Linked DNA regions of Homo sapiens: all the other regions are linked to region 2. The links are contacts of gene promoters, found by promoter capture Hi-C in blood cells and fetal thymus (Javierre and others, 2016). All regions are on one chromosome and are shown on one strand. The core of a region is centred on a gene start or on the middle of the fragment in contact, and the rest is flanking DNA. Distances in the headings are between cores, read along the strand shown. Region 1 has its middle 4.5 kb from the start of KDM7A-DT. Region 2 holds the start of HIPK2 (homeodomain interacting protein kinase 2). Region 3 overlaps PARP12 (poly(ADP-ribose) polymerase family member 12). Region 4 overlaps KDM7A (lysine demethylase 7A).

The links. Contacts are between HindIII fragments. The CHiCAGO score rates a contact against its expected background, and 5 or more counts as called.
Region 1: a fragment that was not itself captured here is called in contact with the fragment with the promoter of HIPK2 in region 2 in 1 of 17 cell types (neutrophils); the score reaches 5.3 in neutrophils.
Region 3: a fragment that was not itself captured here is called in contact with the fragment with the promoter of HIPK2 in region 2 in 1 of 17 cell types (total B cells); the score reaches 5.2 in total B cells.
Region 4: a contact is called between a fragment that was not itself captured here and the fragment with the promoter of HIPK2 in region 2, in 1 of 17 cell types (monocytes). The highest score is 5.4, in monocytes.

The regions. Positions count from the first base shown.
Region 1 is chr7:140,179,646-140,183,842 of GRCh38, forward strand. No RefSeq gene overlaps it. Among named protein-coding and RNA genes, the nearest start is that of KDM7A-DT, 4.5 kb to the left of the region's middle. The HindIII fragment of the contact is 5,380 bases long and covers 1-4,197 here.
Region 2 is chr7:139,776,748-139,781,301 of GRCh38, forward strand. It overlaps HIPK2 (homeodomain interacting protein kinase 2), which reads right to left and starts at 1,251. Exons shown (of 15, transcript NM_022740.5): 1 at 858-1,251. The coding sequence starts at 876. It also overlaps a transcript of TBXAS1 not described here. RefSeq lists silencers at 847-936, 1,367-1,596. The HindIII fragment of the contact is 7,054 bases long and covers 1-2,801 here.
Region 3 is chr7:140,040,644-140,045,074 of GRCh38, forward strand. PARP12 (poly(ADP-ribose) polymerase family member 12) reads right to left here. Exons shown (of 12, transcript NM_022750.4): 6 at 1,001-1,196. Among named protein-coding and RNA genes, the nearest start is that of PARP12, 20 kb to the right of the region's middle. The HindIII fragment of the contact is 4,259 bases long and covers 33-4,291 here.
Region 4 is chr7:140,118,901-140,123,299 of GRCh38, forward strand. It overlaps KDM7A (lysine demethylase 7A), which reads right to left. Exons shown (of 20, transcript NM_030647.2): 8 at 1,542-1,629; 9 at 213-319. Among named protein-coding and RNA genes, the nearest start is that of KDM7A, 56 kb to the right of the region's middle. The HindIII fragment of the contact is 1,598 bases long and covers 1,400-2,997 here.

The DNA of each region.
Region 1 (4,197 bases), core at 596-3,095, 400 kb after region 2:
TCTCAGATATTTTTCTCTTTTTTTTTTTTGAGATGAAGTCTGGGTCTGTCGCTCAGGCTGGAGTGCAGTGGTGCGATCTCAGCTCACTGCAACCTCCACCTCCCGGGTTCAAGCAATTCTTAGGCCTCAGCCTCCTGAGTAGCTGGGGTTACAGGTACCTGCCACCATGCCCGGCTAATTTTTGTAATTGTAGTACAGAAGGGTTTCACCATGTTACTCAGGCTGGTCTTGAACTCCTGACCTCAGGTGATCCACCTGCCTCAGCCTCCCAAAGTGCTGGGATTACAGTTGTATGCCTCAGATATTTATTTATTTATTTATTTATTTATTTATTTTTATTTATTTTTCTTTTTTTTTTTTTTTTTTTTTTGAGACACAGTCTCACTTTGTTGCCCAGGCTGGAGTATAGTGGCATGATCTTGGCTCACTGCAACCTCCGCCCTCTGGGTTCAAGGAATTCTTTTGCCTCAGCCTCCCAAGTATCTGGGATTACAGACGTGCACCACCACAGCCAGCAAATTTTTGCATTTTTAGTAGTGGCCAGGCTGGTCTCGATTTCCTGACCTCAGGTGATCCACCTGCCTCAGCCTCCCAAAGTGTTGAGATTACAGGTGTGAGCCACCGCACCCAGCCCAGATATTTCTTTATAGCAACGAAAGAACAAACTGATACAGTTGTGTACAAGAGAACTGATCAAACGCAGTCGTGTTGGCCAGACGTGGTGGCTCATGCCTGTAATCCCAGCACTTTGGGAGGCCCAGGCGGGTGGATCATGAAGTCAGGAGATTGAGACCATCCTGGCTAACATGGTGAAACCCTGTCCCTTCTAAAAATACAAAAAATTAGCTGGTTGTGGTGGCACGCACCTGTATTCCCAGCTACTCGGGAGGCTGAAGCAGGAGAATCGCTCAAACCCGGGAGGCAGAGATTGCAGTGAGCCAAGATCGCGCCACTGCACTCCAGCCTGGGCTACAGAGCAAGACTCCATCTCAAAAAAAAAAAAAAAAAAAAAATACAGTCGTGTTGCTTAACAACAGAGGTAAGTCTGAGAAATGCATCGTTAGGCAATTTCATCGTTGTGTGAACACCATAGAGTGTACTTACAACCGTGTTTGGTATAGCTAACTACACACCTAGGCTAGATGATGTAGCCCATCACTCCTAGGCTATACACCTGTATAGCATGTTACTGTGCTGAATTCCATAGGGATTTAGAACACAATGGTAAGAAATTGTGTTTCTAAATATAGAAAAGGGAGAGTAAAAATATCACATCATAATATTATGGGGCACCATCATAATATGCAGTCCATCATTGACGGAAATGTCATTATGCGACACGTGACTGGCAATGAGTTAAGGAAAATGGGAGCCAGGTTTCTCAATGTTCAGGAAGAGAATTACAAATAAGAGGAAACTTTGGTGGTGGGCTAGTAATGGAGGTATCAATCTATCACTATTTGTAGAAATAGATATAGGTGTATATGTACATACCCTGTCCATTGAGAGGATCTGGGAGTAGTGACACCACAAAACAATGAGAACAGCTAGCCCAGGTCTTGGCTTCTAAATACCATTCTCCACTTCATTTTTCTTCTTGGCAAAATAGTTGATTCCAGGACTGGAGAAGAGGGTACGGGATGAGCCTGGAACTTCTTGTAGTACCAGAATATAAGGACGTGCTCAAAGAATAATGAGGCATGTCTAAAGGACACCAGCCAAATCAGGGACAAATTGTACTTCAACATTTAAAAAAAATCATGTATTATAACCCACTGAATAATATAGGAAGCTATACCAGTGTAAAGAAATACATAAATTGAAAGTTTGATAAGCAGTGGAATAGTTTCATAGTTTCAAAGTATCTCCCAACAAAATTCTTACTAATTACAAAGGGAACTAGAGTAACTTTTCAGTGTTAAGGAGCTTGGCAGACACCATCTTAATCAAATGATCAAGTGCCATCAATAATGGGACAAATCAAGATCACGTGCCATCTGATAGGATTTGGTGAGAATACTAGCATCACTTCTGTGCATTTCTGCTCAGTCTATTTAATTAATCTCCAGTTTGGAAATGCAGCTATTTTTAAAAGTACATGAAGAGATCAGTAAAGAATAAAGACACTGTAAGGCATACAAATCTGTAAGGAAAGGTTAGAGAAATTGTAAACACAAAGATTTGATCTTGGGAAGAAAGGGATTAAGGCTAGAACTCTGGATGATGCCAACGTTTTAGTGGCAAGCCCCATACATCATAATTAAGCTCATGGTTTTGGATTCACAACCTACTACCTCTGTGACAACTTATTAACACTTGGATTTTAGTTTTCTCATTTTAATGGGAATGGTAAGCATATCTGCTTCCCAGGGCTGGGTACACTAAAATAACATACTTTGCACAATTCTTAGCATATGATAAGCCATATAGCTACTAACTGCAATTATGAATAATTATTTTGCTACTTGTTCATTAATAATAATAGAGAGGACAGCTCTATTATGAAGAGCAGCTGAAGAGTTAGGACAGAAGACTAGGAGAATATTGTCTCAAAAACAAGCGGGGGATAGAATTTCAAAAGGAAAAATATCTTGAAGAAAGACACCCAGCTCCATGCCAGCATCAGTTGACAATGACCGTGGGACTCCCTCTCCCTTTCTCCTTTGTGGTTTCTCCAATACTCGCAGATCTCTCTTAATTTTCACATCAAATCTAGGGTGTTGTGTTTGTTTTTAACACTTCACTTGTTCATTTAACCTCATTTCTCTGACAAGGAATGTTTGCTCCAAACTAACAATTCTCCTTCCTACTACTAATGATACTGCTCTATCTCCACAACCACGTCTGCTATTCTCTTCCTTAGAAAACAAACGTACTGGCCAGGCACAGTGGCTCACGCCTTAATCCCAGCATTTTGGGAGGCCAAGGTGAACGGATCACCTGAGGTCAGGAGTTCCAGACCAGCCTGGCCAACATGGTGAAACCTCATCTCTAAAAAAATACAAAAATTAGCCGGGCACGATGGCAGGTGCCTGCAATCCCAGTTACTCAGGAGTCTGAGGCAGAAGAATCACCTGAACCTGGGAAGCAGTGGTTGCAGTGAGCCGAGATCGTGCCATTGCACTCCAGCCTGGGCGACAGAGCGAGAATCCGTCTCAAAAAAAAAAAAAAAAAGAAAGAAAGAAAGAAAGAAAGAAAACAAACATATTTTGGGAATATATCTTGGGAATGCTACGTTAAACCATTGACATGCATTAAATGAGAGTGATTTGTTCTTACATAGCACTTGATCCTCCCTGTAACCTGTTCATCAGATTAACGAAACAGGGATTAACTACACAAATTAACTAGCCTGGCTAAAGTTGTGGTAGGAGGACAGAGAAATTTTAATTTTACTGAGCTGGAGGGAAAAGGATAATGTCTGAGTGGAAAAGATTGCCTATGGAGAGTAGGTCTTGAAAGAGTATATCATGGTGCTGGGAGGAAGAAGAGTGGAGTCTAGTCGGGGAAGCAGGACCCAACACACAGAGCTCAGCAGCTTTGTTCACAGCCTGATTATCTTTGCTTCTACCCCAGGAGCTGGGAAAATTCTAAACTGACAGCCCGAGGTTAAGATGTTATTAAAGGAGGACTGTCATGTTGAACACATTCAAAGCGCAAATGTTAATAAAAGTGGTGAAAAAGTATAAAGGAAAGCAAAGCAGATAAATGACATTAGTAAGGACAGTGAATCACAATGTAGCCAGGCATTACAAAGGATACAGTATAAAGTACATAGTATCACTTAGGAAGTATCCTTGCCAAAAATGTTTAACCTGAATATAATTAAACCTTAAGACTTAATTTCCAGCTGACAGGAAATTCAGGAGATAGAGCAGCAACAAGTTGTATGATACCACAAGGAAATAAGACTAATCCAAAATATGAAACATTTCACAAAACCACTAGCTTAGTTTATTTTAAAAGTTGCCATTTTTAAAACAAAGAGTGTAACCTGGGCAACATGGCGAAACCCCATCTCTACAAAAAATAAAAATTAGCCAGGCGTGGTGGCACGCACCTGTCGTCCCAGCTACTCAGGAGGCAGAGGCAGGCGGATCAAGCCTGGGAAGTCAAAGCTGGAATGAGATGGCCAGCGTGGTGGCTCACGCCTGTAATCCCAGCACTTTGGGAGGCCAAGGCAGGTGGATCACAAGG
Region 2 (4,554 bases), core at 1-2,500:
ACACATCGAAGTGTAAAAACTTAGTTGATTCTGGGTTGCTTTCTGGCTGGAAGCTGACAGAACGGACTGAAGAGAAACGAAAGACAGTGTGCGAGGCAGACCTACTGCTTTTCTGCCTTGCGTTCTTTTCTTTCTTGCTAAAGGCAGTCAAATGGGGAAAAATACCCCGATGCCAGGTGAAGGTGCACAACACAGATCGACCCAGACCGAGCCAGAAAAACGTCTCCGCCGCTCCCCCGGCTGGAAAACCCAAAGTCCACGTCCCCTTCCACACGCTAATGAGGGGAGATTTTCGCCTATTTCATTGTTCTGCCTGGCTCTGACATGGACTTTTCATCTCTCTCCTCTCTCCCCACCTAGCCCCGTGCATTCCGATTCCACAGCCCCCCCAAAATCGGAGGCTCGCGGAGAATAAAGGAGCGTGGGGTGGGCGCGGAAAGAAATGGGAAGGGGCGCGGGGCGGAGAGCGAAGTGGAAAGGAGGTGCTCCGAAAGGTAATGTGGGGGGGCGGTGGAAGCTAAGCCGCATCACCTTCATTTATCGCAAATAAATAAAAAGCACAGTCACCGGTCCGCCTTCCCCGGCGTCCCTGCCCTCCCCGGGCAGCCGCCCACCCTCGCACACGCCCCCTCCCCTCCTGCGCCCCCGGCCCCTCTCCCCGCCCTGGAAGCAAGACCCTGCCGGCGCCGGGTCCCGGTCATCTTCCGGGCGAGGGAGGGGGTCGCGGCCCCCTCGGGCCCCGGGTGGGGGCTGGGGCAGGCGCCGGGGGCTGCGGGCGCGGGGCCGCGGGCAGAACAAAGCTGCGGGGGCCGCGGAGGGCGGCGGGCGCGGGGTCGGCGGGGCCGGGCGCCCCTTACCTTCGTACACGGGGGCCATCGGGGCCGGGGTGTCCGCGGTTCATGGCAACGGGGACGGGAAAGCGGCGCGCGAGCTCGGCCCCCCCAGCCTCAGTCGGAATCTGCCATCTTGAGCCTGTGTCTCCGCTCTCGGCGCAGCCGAGGCCGCCCGCGCCCGCATCACCGCCTCCCGTGGCCGGCGCCGGGGGAGGGGGCCGGGCGCGCCGCCGCCGCCGCCGCCGCCGCTGCCGCCCGGGCCCGGCGCGGGGGGCTCGGGGCTCGGGGCTCGGGGCGGCCGGGCGGGCGGAGCGGCCGAGGCCGAGGCGCCGAGCGGCCGCGGCCCCCGAGCGGATCCGCGGAGGGGCGGGAGCCGGGGGCAGCGCGCGGCCAGGGCCGGCGGGGCTCAGCTCAGCATGGCTGGGCGCGGGGGCTCCGCAAAAGTTGCTGGCGGAGGGGGGCGGCGGGCGGGGGCGGGGGCGGGGCGCGGGGCCGGGAGAGCCACAGGGAGTCCGCGCGCAATCGAGCGCCGATGGCACGGATGCGAGGCGGGGAAGGCCGAACCGAAGGGCAGAGCCGCGCCGGCGGCCCGAGGGGACCGCGCTGGGAGGGGCTGCCGCGCAGCGCGGGGGGACTGGGCGCAGGGCGGGCCCCGGGTAGTGGGTGAGAGGGCCGGCCTGGACCCGGCGGGCGCACGGCTCCGAGCCCAGCGCAGCCGAGCCGGTCTGCAGAGGGGCCCCCAGAACTTTGTGTGTGTGTGTGCACGCGCGCGCGTGTGTGCCCAGGTGCGAGGGTTCGCGCGTGTGCTGGCGGGGAGGGAACCGACCCGAAAGAGAGCCCCACGCTGGCAAAGTGGCTCGCCCATCTCACAGCCGGTTGGCGCTCGCGGAGGTAGGAGTGGAATGAATGAATGAAGGAGTGGGCGCGCGCCGTGCTCCGGAGGAGGGCGGGTGAGTGGAGGAGCTTCGGAAAGCCACACGAGGTCAGAGGCACCGAAGCCCTGCCGTGCACGCCGCGGAAATGCAGCCCCCGGGGTGGTCGCTGGGTTCCTGCCGGAGTCTGGCTTCCACGCCACCCTGATCTTCTCCTCCTCGCGTCTACACTGTCCCGAGGGCCGCCACTCCATCACTTGAATGGGAGCTCACAACTCTCTGGGTCCTCGCTTTTCTCAGCGCTCTCTCCTATCAGGGCTTCCGCTAAACACTCTCCAGACTCTCCCCAGCCGGGAGCCTCTCCAGGTTTGCTTCTCCAGCTGCCTCCCGGATGCTTGGATAGGATGCCCTGCCATCCCCTCCAACTTAGGAAGACTTGTTGAGTCTCCTCTTAGGCACTGTTTTTAAAACTGTGGGTCGTGACACAGTAATAGATCATAAAATAAATGCAGCGGAAGGCAACCAGCTTTCAAAAAGAACGAAATGGAATCCAATAGAAAATATTAGAGTCCATTGCCCTTAGTAAGGGCAACTATTGTTTCATAAACCTTTTGTTTCGATTATAGGTACTGGACAAGTGTACTGGACCATGATGTCAATTTTATTTCCGTCTGTGAATCGTGGGTTTAAAAAAGTTGAAAAGCTATCTGTGTAAAATAATGATCTCTAACACTGTATAACTTTCTTAAAAACAACCTCGTGATTTTCTCACTACTTCTTATCCTTTCCGGTCTCCATCCTCCGTTCCCATCCTTCAGTCCTTCCCAAAAAAGGCAAGCTCTTTCACACTTTTTTAGTGGTACATCACGACACCTTCCTCTGTGTGATCTTGTACTCTGCGGTCTTCCTTGCCCCCATAATCAATGCTACACTTCCTATCCCTTCTCTTAACCTAATGCCATTCACGTTTGCAGAATCCTAGACTACTGTTGCTAAAAGGACCTCAGAGGTCATCTGGGCCAGCCCTGCCCTTTTAGAGTTGAAGAAATGGAGTCCAGAGAAGTAAAATCTGTTGCCCAATGTCACACAGTATTGAAGCTTAGGAATAGGTCTCGTGGCTCCCACTCTAGTGTTTTTTGCTCCACACCGGTCATTTATCTCCTTCCCTTCTATCCTCCCTGCAATCTTTAACTTTAGTCTTGGCCCAGGTCATCCTAAATATTGCCATCTTCATAATACGTGGTTCTGGCCATGCCACGCTCCTGGCTAACATCCTCTAAGGACTCAACCTCTGCAGGTGGGGCTGAGTGCCTTGGCTTTTCATCAAGGCAGGCGAGTCCTGACTTAGCTTTCTAAGGACATGAGTTCAGCAAGTCACTGCTTCTCTAGCCAAACTGGTTTACTTGTAGCCCAGTGCCAGCTTCACCCATCTCTGTCACTGTGCCTTTGCCCAAGCGGTCACTTTCCCACCCACTTTCCCAGAGGGGTACCTTCTCCATCTTCTCTCTTTAAGCAGATTCTACCTGTGCCTGGCTCACCTCCTCCACAAAACAGCCCGAGATAGCGTGGGAGTAAGTCAGACCTAGGTTCAAATCCTAGCTCTTCCACTTAACTATGTGATCTTGGTCAAAATGCTTAACCTCTCTGAGCCTCAGTGTCTGTATTTTGATTATGAGAAGGAGAACAATAGTAATGTTCTCCTTTTGCATCTGTAAATCTCTATCATAGCCTTCACCACACAGGTATGTAACTCCCTGTTAATACATACCCTACATGCATGTCTCTCTGCCCCTTTCTAGTGCTGGCCATTAGAACTTGCTGCCATAATGGCAGTGTAGCTACTTATGTCTGTGGAGCACATGAAATGTGGCTAGTATGACTGAGGAACTGAATTTTTAATTTTAATAACCATGGGTGGTTAGTGGCTACCATTTTGGACAAGGTGTCTCTAGACTGTAAGCTCAGTAAGGACAGAAACCATGTTTTTCTTGTTTTGGATTGTATGTCCAATAACTGCATTGCCTAACGCATGGTGAGTACTGCACACATATTTGTTGAATGGATGATAGCTGCAATTTGTTGCATGCTCCCTTGTGTCCAGCACAACACTACAAACTCGATAAAAGGCATTTCATATAGTCCTCATCACAGCCTCTGAGGCTGGGTTAGATTAGAGAGAGAGTTTTATATAGAGGGCAGACACATAGTAGGGGTTCAATAAAAGTTATTATTATTCTAACTCCTCCCTCTGACCAGCCCCACTGACTTTTGTCTCATCTTTCCTTAGGCTCACAGAACATTTCCTGCCTGTTGCTCACACTCTGTTGTCCACAGCATACCCGCACCCTAGATGGCTGACTCTTGTCTTCTGTGTAGGTACCCTGTGTTCATAACTGGATTGGCAGCGTCTTGGAGCAAGGCCCTGCTTTATAGGACTGCCCCTGAATTCAGCACTGACCAGTGTTCAGTAACTGCCTCTAAGTCCATCCCAGCTGCTGTCTAGCAGTGAGTGATTCTAGGCAGTCTTAAAATGAATATCACTTGTGTCAACCGAAAACATTTTACAGGTAGTCTCCTCCCCATAAGAAGGGAACAATCTTGGGCAAGGAAATAGAGTCCCATGGAAGGGGAACAAGATGGAGCCATACAGACAGAGGTCCACCTTCTCTTCAGACCACCATGACTGAAGCTGTATCCATGAGATGCAAAACATGCATTCAATTGAGCTAGCGAAGTTCGTATGATATAACGGAAAAATATTCTTGAAATGAGCTTAGATTTTCCTTCATGAATTGGCAGACTGAGTATACTAATTGTCTCCTTTCCTTCCGGTGACTGCAGTCAAGTGG
Region 3 (4,431 bases), core at 912-3,411, 260 kb after region 2:
CATTCTGAGTGCAGTTAAGAATAAGAAACTAAAGCTTCAATATAGCCTCTTGAAACCCAGAAGAGTACAAAATACCTATCGATTTTCATTTTGGAGGGTGAGTTCTTTATCAATGGTGCCTTCCCTAAACTTGTACTTGAGATGGAATCTCGCTCTTTCGCCCAGGCTGGAGTACAGTGGTGTGATCTCTGCTCACTGCAACCTCTGCCTCCCGGGTTCAAGTGATTCTCATTCATACCTCAGTCTCCCGAGTAGCTGGGACCACAGGCATACGCCACCACACCTGGCCAATTTTTGTATTTTTAGTAGAGATGGGGTTTCACCATGTTGGCCAGGCTGGTCTTGAACTCCTGACCTCAACTGATCTGCCCACCTCGGCCTCCCAAAGTGCTGGGATTGTAGGCATGAGCCACCACGCCCGGCCTAAACTTGTATTTCTATAAGTGACCAGGGGACTCCCTTTAATCTGACCCATCCACAAACACCTGCGAAGAATTGACAGCAACTATTTTTTGTTATTTGGCTTGGATTCCAAACCTATACATGATATAAATCAATTTTCTTATATTTGCCTACCTTCTGTAAAGTTGCAGAAATGGCAGACAACCAGTTTGAAAAGCCTTTACCTCTATATCACAGCTACACAAACACACTTGCACACATAGGCACCAGCTGTGGGGTTAAGTTACCTGTTCAACAAGAGAAACATCTTTCTATCCCATTTAATAAAACCAATGAAGAAACTTGATCTCACTACAAATTTGTCATTCAGTTCTCATGAGCCAACAGATGGAAGCTCTTCAAAGATGAAAGCTCATACAAATAAATTCCAACTTATCTAGTTTTGCCATAATTCTCCCAAAGCAAGTGAGCCACACTGGCACCTGGGGATCCTCAGCTCTCTCAAGGATGCCCCTGGCAACAATATGGGGGCTCTTATTTGGCTCCTCTCTTACAGATCCTCAGGACAAAACATTCACCCTCTTTCCATCACACTTACCTGTCTTCCATATTCCTGCCAAGAACCAAACTCATCACTCCAGTACCAAATCCAGTCAGTGGTGAGGATGAAGTGTGGAGGTTTGGTGACAGAGGAGGCCGTGGAGAGGCGGCGAGCCTGGGTAGCACCGTAAGTCATGGCGTTAAAGTTCAGACAATGAGAGTGAAAGGTACTGGCTGACTCAGAGCACAGGATCCTACAGAAGAAAAACAGCAGCAGACTGAAAATCCCACCAGCCAAGCAGACACAGGTCCCTCAGCTTGAGAACATATAGCTGGGAGATGCGAATAGTAAATGTGGCATGCACATTTTAGAAAAAGTTCCCAGAGGTAGAGGAAACTGCTTTTTCAGATCAGTTTTGAGGTATAAAAATATCAAAATCAAGATAATGTGGGAGACTAGTTATGACGAAAATTCCTCTCAGTACAAAATGCCGAAGATGCTGGTGAAATCATTCTTTTTTAAAATTCACTGCTGAGCTGGCAAGAAAGGGAAGTCCTCAGAAGCCAAAAATAACAATAGTTAACATATACTGAGTGTTTACTGTGTGAGCCAGACCCTGCATTAAGCACTTTATATGTATTAGGCGATGACATTTTCACAACCCTATGAGGTTGAGACTATTATCTCCACTTCACAGACGGGAAAACAGAAGCTCAGGAAGGTGAAGAAACCTGTTCAAGGTCAAACAGCTAGTCAGCGGGCGAGCTGGGCTTTCAGGTGGGCAGGTGGGCTGCACAGCCTGCACCTGAGCCACCAGGACACGCTCCCTTTCTAAACGCAGTACTGCCTAAAGACCAAAGGAAGGTACGAAACTGGAGAGCGGAGAGGAGGGCGAGAGCCAGCAGCTATCCCAGGGCAGTATCGATGAGTAACGACAGAGAGCCTGGGCTTTGGCCGCAAAAGGGAAGCAGGAAACAAATGTAGGGTCTGAGTACGGCAGGAGGCTGAATCTCAAAAGAGATACCTCTGCGTAAAACCAGGACCCTAAAAGATGACCCACCTTAGTAAAGGGGGACTGGAGAGGGGACTTGCCTTGCAAAGACATCTGGCAAGGAAACCTGCCTGTATTAATGTTGGTTCTGGATAAAGGAGGAAAAAATTCCTCTGAGAACTCATAAACCACTCAAGCCTCACAGAAGTTTTAGACTGATTCACATTTTGGGAGAATTAGCTGCAAAGACCACCCAGGGTAGCAGTTCTCAGAGAAGCAAACACACATCCCCTCTGGAGAAATTCACCTTCAACTCAGGCCTCAAAAGAATTTCTTGGCCGGGCATGGTGGCTCACGCCTGTAATCCCAGCACTTTGGGAGGCCAAGGCAGGTGGATCATGAGGTCAGGAGATCGAGACCATCCTGGCTAACACAGTGAAACCCCGTCTCTACTAAAAATACAAAAACTAGCCGGGAGTGGTGGCGGGCACCTGTAGTCCCAGCTACTCAGGAGGCTGAGGCAGGAGAATGGCATGAACCCAGGAGGCGGAGCTTGCAGTGAGCTGAGACCGCACCACTGCGCTCCAACTTGGGCGACAGAGTGAGACTCCATCTCAAAAAAAAAGAATTTCCAAAGAAATTTCCATCAAATCAAACATGAGCTCAAAATCGATCACAAAATGTGGAAACAAAGACACTATGAGCAAAAGTTAACAAAAACAAAATCAGACCACCCTGAACTATAAACATTAGTATTCTCAGATGCAGATATACGTGATATGTTTTTTAAAAAGGAATTGAGCATCAAAAGTATGAGTAAGAATCAAGAGACTATAAAAACTGACTGGGTAAATTTAAGGAAAAAAACAGAACTTTTACTATTCATTATTCTTTTCTTTCTCCTCCACTCCCTCCAAAACTTTTTTTCTTTTCCTTTTTTACTACTTTTTTTTAATTTTTTATTTTTTGAGACAGAGTCTCACCCTGTCACCCAGGCTGGAGTGCAGTGGCATCATCTCAGCTCATCGTGATCTCCGCCTCCCGGATTCAAGCGATTCTCCTGTCTCACCCTCCCGAGGAGTAGCTGGGATTACAGGCATGCACCACCACGCCCAGCTAATTTTTGTATTTTTTTGTGCAGACAGAGTTTCACCATGTTGGCCAGGCTGGTCTTGAACTCCTGGCCTCAAGCCATCCGCCCTCCTCAGCCTCCCAAAGTGCTGGGATTACACGCGTGAGCCACTGCTCCCGACCTTAGAACTTTTAAACATAATTAAATTAACTGAAATTTAAAAATCATACTTCGATGGGACACACTGCATCTCAGAAGAGTCTGAACTAATGAACTGAGAGCCTGAGAGGAAGAAATGTGGCAGAGTTTAGAAAGAGAATAAAAGAGAAGTTAGAAGACATAAAAGATAAAGTGAGAAGACTTCACCATATATCTAATGAGAATTCCAGAGAAGGAATACTTAAGGAGATCATGGCTGAGGAAATCAGAAAGCACAGCAAAATATGAGTAGCATAAATTTTTTTAAATCCACACACAGATTTTAGTGAAACTGCACAGCACCAAAGAATGACAAGATATTAAAAACAGCCAGAGAGAAAAAAACAGACTATCTATTATACTGGATTGAATTGTGTCCCCAAGAAGATATGCTGAAGGTCTAATCCCTGGTACCCATGAATGCGATCTTATTTGGAAATAGGGTCTTTGCAGATATAATCAAGTTAAGATGAGGTCATATTGGATTCGGGTGGGCCCTAATCCAAAACTGATGTCCTTTTAAGACGAGGGAAATTTGAACACAGACACATGGGGAAATGCCTGTGACAATGGAGGCTGAGATTGGAGTGACGCGTCTACAAGCCAAGGCATGCCAAGGATTTCTAAGCATCAGAATCCTGGAGGAGGCAAGAAAGGATCCTCCTGTAAAGCCTTCAGACAGAGCAAGGCCCTGCTAACACCTTCAGTTTGGACTTCTAGCCTCCAGAACCGAGAAAATAAATTTCTGTTGTTTGAAGCCATCAAGTTCATGGTAATTTGTTACAGCAGCCCTAAGAAGTGAACTAATACCACCTCGATTTAGGCTGATAGCTAACTTCTAAGTAGAAGCAATGGAATCCAGACAACAATGAAATAGTCTTTGAAGAACTGAGGGAAAATACCCAGTAAAACTATCTTTCAAGAATGAGAAGGGAATAAAAACCCTTTCAGACTAACAAAATACACAATTACCTCCAGACTCTCATTAAAGCAACCTCCAACAGAGGAACTTAAAGAAAGAAAATGATAAACAAGGAGAAGTGTGAGCAAAGGAATGGTGAGTAAGAAACAAAATGGTAATTGTGTAAGCTTAAACAAATACTGACTGCCTAAAACAATACGAATTTCTAACCTCTAGGATTAAAAATATTATATCAGCAATACATACAGTGCATCTTTTTCTTTTTTTTTTTTTTAATAGAGACAAGATCTAGCTCTGTCACCCAG
Region 4 (4,399 bases), core at 949-3,448, 340 kb after region 2:
AATTTTTAAGAACATGGATTGTCAGGTTATGGACTAAAGACTCTAACTTGCTAAAAAGGTTGCTGGATGGGGGAAAACCACTTATTTAAAAAACAAAATAGGAGTGACATCCATACACTACTAGAAAAGGGACTCTTTCTGTCAGGTGGCTATGAGTGAATTTACAAACAATATGCATCATATCATATACAAACATGCAAATTATTAATTACCTTTCAGGGTTTCCAGCAAGTTTTTGGCTACAAACCAACATATGGCTTCAAAGAAAGGGAATTTGAAAAGATCTGGTGTTTTTAGCCTTTTCTCCATCTCATAACACCTAAATGAGTTTGAAGAAATTTTTAATATTAATATTAGAATTTCAAAGTTAGATGAAAGTAACCAACTGGAAAATAAAATAACCAGGTCATGATATGTAAGACCAATAAAGTATTTTACATTTCTTAGCAACATCACATTTGGACAAGACTGAATTGTGATCTTATCCAGGTTCTGACTTTAAGGAATTTGATGGTATACTTAAGAATTGTATTGGACTTCACAGAAGATCAGGATCACACTTTGGGATTTGTATCCTGGTTTTAACAAAAGACATTTTTACGAGGGTTCTACTACAATAAATAAAACTGTGTGTTTCAGAAAACACCTCTATGTGTTAGACAACAGTGCAATACCCACCCAAAAAAGTTTTATTTAGGCTCCACTAGGCATTCCAGCTCAAGACCACACTTGGCAAGAATTAAACAGGAGCCATCCCTCCCTCAGGGACAGCTCAGGTACAAAAAGACAAGATCCACACTTGGTAGGTGTGGGAGCTGTTTAAGGCTGCTTAAAGCCTTATGCCCTGTAAAAGCCACTATCTCCCCTAATAACGCCACACACAGATGCATAGCTTCTAGGGATCTCTATGAGTGTGCCAAGTTACAAGAGTTACCACATTCAGGCAAGTCCAGAGATATGGCTTCTTACTAGGTATTTCTAGTTCTCCCAGTCCTGATGCAGTTTATCAATCAGGAATCATTTTTACCATAAGCAATGTTACCTAGTAAAAGTCAACACTCATTAGACTACTAGGAGAAGAGAGTTACGCAAAGGTCAAATTCTCATATAGAGGAGAAACAGCTATTAATCCTTTACCTGCAGCAAAATTAAAGCAGGTGTTTTGATAGCAGTCCTGACTTACGGTTGCTTTTTTCTAGCACCATATGTCACATCTGAGTCTGACTAGATTTTGTTCATCTCCCTCACTGCAAAAATAGCCAAAGAAGAACACATACATTTTCACAAAATTTTGAAATTTGGAATATTATCTGAATAAGTTCCCTTTTGTTGTTGTTGTTTTAGATTTGAAATGCAAATTATCCTCCTGGCAAAATTTTAAAATACTACTTTTGTTAAAAGCTTCTATCCCTAATAATATCTCAGGGACTATTTCCATGGAATCTCAAATAAAATAAGCTATTGATTTTTTTTAAGTTAAAAAAAAAAGTATCCTATTTTTAAAAAGGACAAAAGGTCATTTAAATACTGATGACACAAACCTGAGCTGCATGCCAATGTTAAGGTTGTGCAGGAAGTTCCCCCCAAAAGCCATACAGTCCTGAGAAGTGAGCACAGCATGGATCCACCCTAAAATGGTTGAAAATATATAAACCAGTCATTTTTCAATATGTAAACTAAACCAATAGGATATCTACCTGTGAAGTAACTCAAAATATCAATATCAGTTTACTTCATATTTCAGTGCTAGAGAAGTTAATGTTTATTACAATCTATAGATTTAATTATTTATTAAATGCCTATTATATGGTAGGCTCTATGCTGAGTTTGAGAAATAAGGTGACGGTTTTTGTAGTTGTTACTGTATTTGTTTTTTTCTTTTTAAAAATAGAGATGGGGTCTCACTTTGTTGCCCAGGCTGATCTCAAACTCCTGGCCTCAAAGTCATCCTCTCACATTGGCCTCCCAAAGTGCTGAAATTAAGGCGTGAGCCACTGTGCCCAGCCTGTTTTTGTTTTTTAGCTTAAAAACACAACCCAACTTTATATTAAAGATTTTACTCTTTGAGACCAGCCAAATCTGGTTTGAATTAGAAAAGCACATTTTCCATTAGAGAACACACTGGGATTGATGGGACACTCCATCGCCCTGGTGTCATCCTGAAATCAGTGCCCCGAAAGGACTAAGCAGAGGAGGATCAGAGGAGTCAACCTGAGACCTGACTCTGTAGAAGGAAAAGGTAGATTACTCACATTTAATTATGAAGGGTTATGGTCCTACAAATATAGGTGTTGCCAAAAAATGATATTTTGTATTCCCATACAAATGCTTACAAAGTGAAAACCATTTCTAAGACATGACGTCTAACTTTTGAAAAAAATGTTGGCAGACTTCAAGACTTCACCAGAAATAAATACAAACACATATTTGTATGCAAATTAGCTTTTAAAATACACAAATCCCGTTTTCTTTGTATTTTTCATCTTTTGACCCCTCACTGAACTGTAACACAAAACAAAAAACCCTCAAAGGACTCACTTTCAAGTGTGCCCATTGCTGTGCTCAAAGGCACAAAGCCTTGAGCTTGACCTTGAAACCACAAATTAGCAGTCTGTGCCAACTCCAAATCCTACACATCAGTGGTTCTCAATAGCGGCAGTACTGCCTGTTCAGGATGTTTTGGAACGTTTAGGGGCTTTTCTGATTGTCACAATGATCTGGGAGCACTACTGGCATTTTGTGAGTGGGAGCCAGGAGTACAATATGTGAGACAGTTCCATACAAAATGAAATTGTCCTGCATCACTCGGGACTGCCAAATTTTCCTGCGCATTCATATAGGTACAAAGCCTGTCCTATTAACTATCTGAGCCTAGAAATTAGAACTCCATTATTATATATTATTATATATATCTGTATATACAGACACCCACACACAGTATATTTTCATGGTTTTGGCACAATTTCCTGAAACACAAAAACTGTACTGTAGTTTGGAAGCTTATCAGTCACTAACAACCTTGGGAAAAGAATTACATTGCCTACAGCAGTGGTTCTCCAAATATGGTCCCCATACCAGCAGCACCTGAATCAGCCAATAACTTGTTAGAAATGCACATTCTCAGGCCCACTCCAGATCCACAGAATCCGAACCTTGGCCATGACGTCCAGCAATCTGTGTTGTAACCAGCCCTCCATGTGATTCTGATATTCCAGGAAGTATCAGTACCTACACCAGTGCTACTGATAGAATTTGTGTTGCCACTGACACACACCTAGATTGATTTCCTTCCTTATGCAATTACTATTTCATTCTGTTCTCTAATGCTGCTGTGCCTAGACAGGCACATACTGAAATAGCATTTCATTATAAATTACCTTTTTATTTCTTCTTTATATTCTAGTTAGGACATTAAATCAATTTAAAAAATTATTCTATGAATGTCAATTTATGATTTGAAGAATCATAAATGTCAATTTATGATTATATTAGAAATACCTAACATAAAAGCAAGAAGTAGGAAGATTTAAGGGAGGGGCATTCACAATGTGAATGAGCCCATTCACAATGAAAATACTGTTACTAATCTAGGCAAATATTCTGGTAGTTCTAAGGCATGTCTTCATTTATTCAACATACATTTGTTATTATATACACCAGAGGCAAGGCTTTCAGCAGGACCTGCAGGGACAGATCCCTGTGAACTTTACAGTCATTAGGGTCACCAAAACCAGCACACAGTTCTCGAAACCACTGGTCTGGACAGTCTATACTCTACATTCATTTACATCTCAAAATGAGAGGCCTGATACCTATACTTGAGGCTACAGCTAAGGCTGATACTCAGTCCTTTCTTTGAGGGTCTCTCAAGACACACCCTATGCTGTCCTAACTGTCCTGGGACAGCAGCCCAGATTCTTACAGGCTTGGTTTTTAACAGCAATGGAGAGCTGACCATAGTTAAGACTATCAAAATTAAAAACTTTTGTGCATCAAAGGATATTATCAAGAAAGTGAGCAGATAACCCACAAAATGGGAGCAAATTATTTGCAAATCATACATACTGATATGGGTCTAGTACAGAGAATAAAGAATGCTTACAAACTCAACAATTAAAAAGGACAACCCAATGTTAAAATGAGCAAAGGGTTTGAATAGACATTTCTCCAAAGAAAATATGCAAATGCCCAACAAGAAAAATGCTCAGCATCATTACTCATTAAGGAAATGCAAATCCAAATCATGACACATCACACCCACTAGAATAGAATAGAAGGCAATTACAGCACTGGTGAGGGTGTGGAGAAACTGGAACCCAAATACACTGCTGGTGGTAACGTAAAATGGTGCAGCCATTTGGAGAACGGGTCAGCAATTCCTCAAGAAGTTAAACGTAGT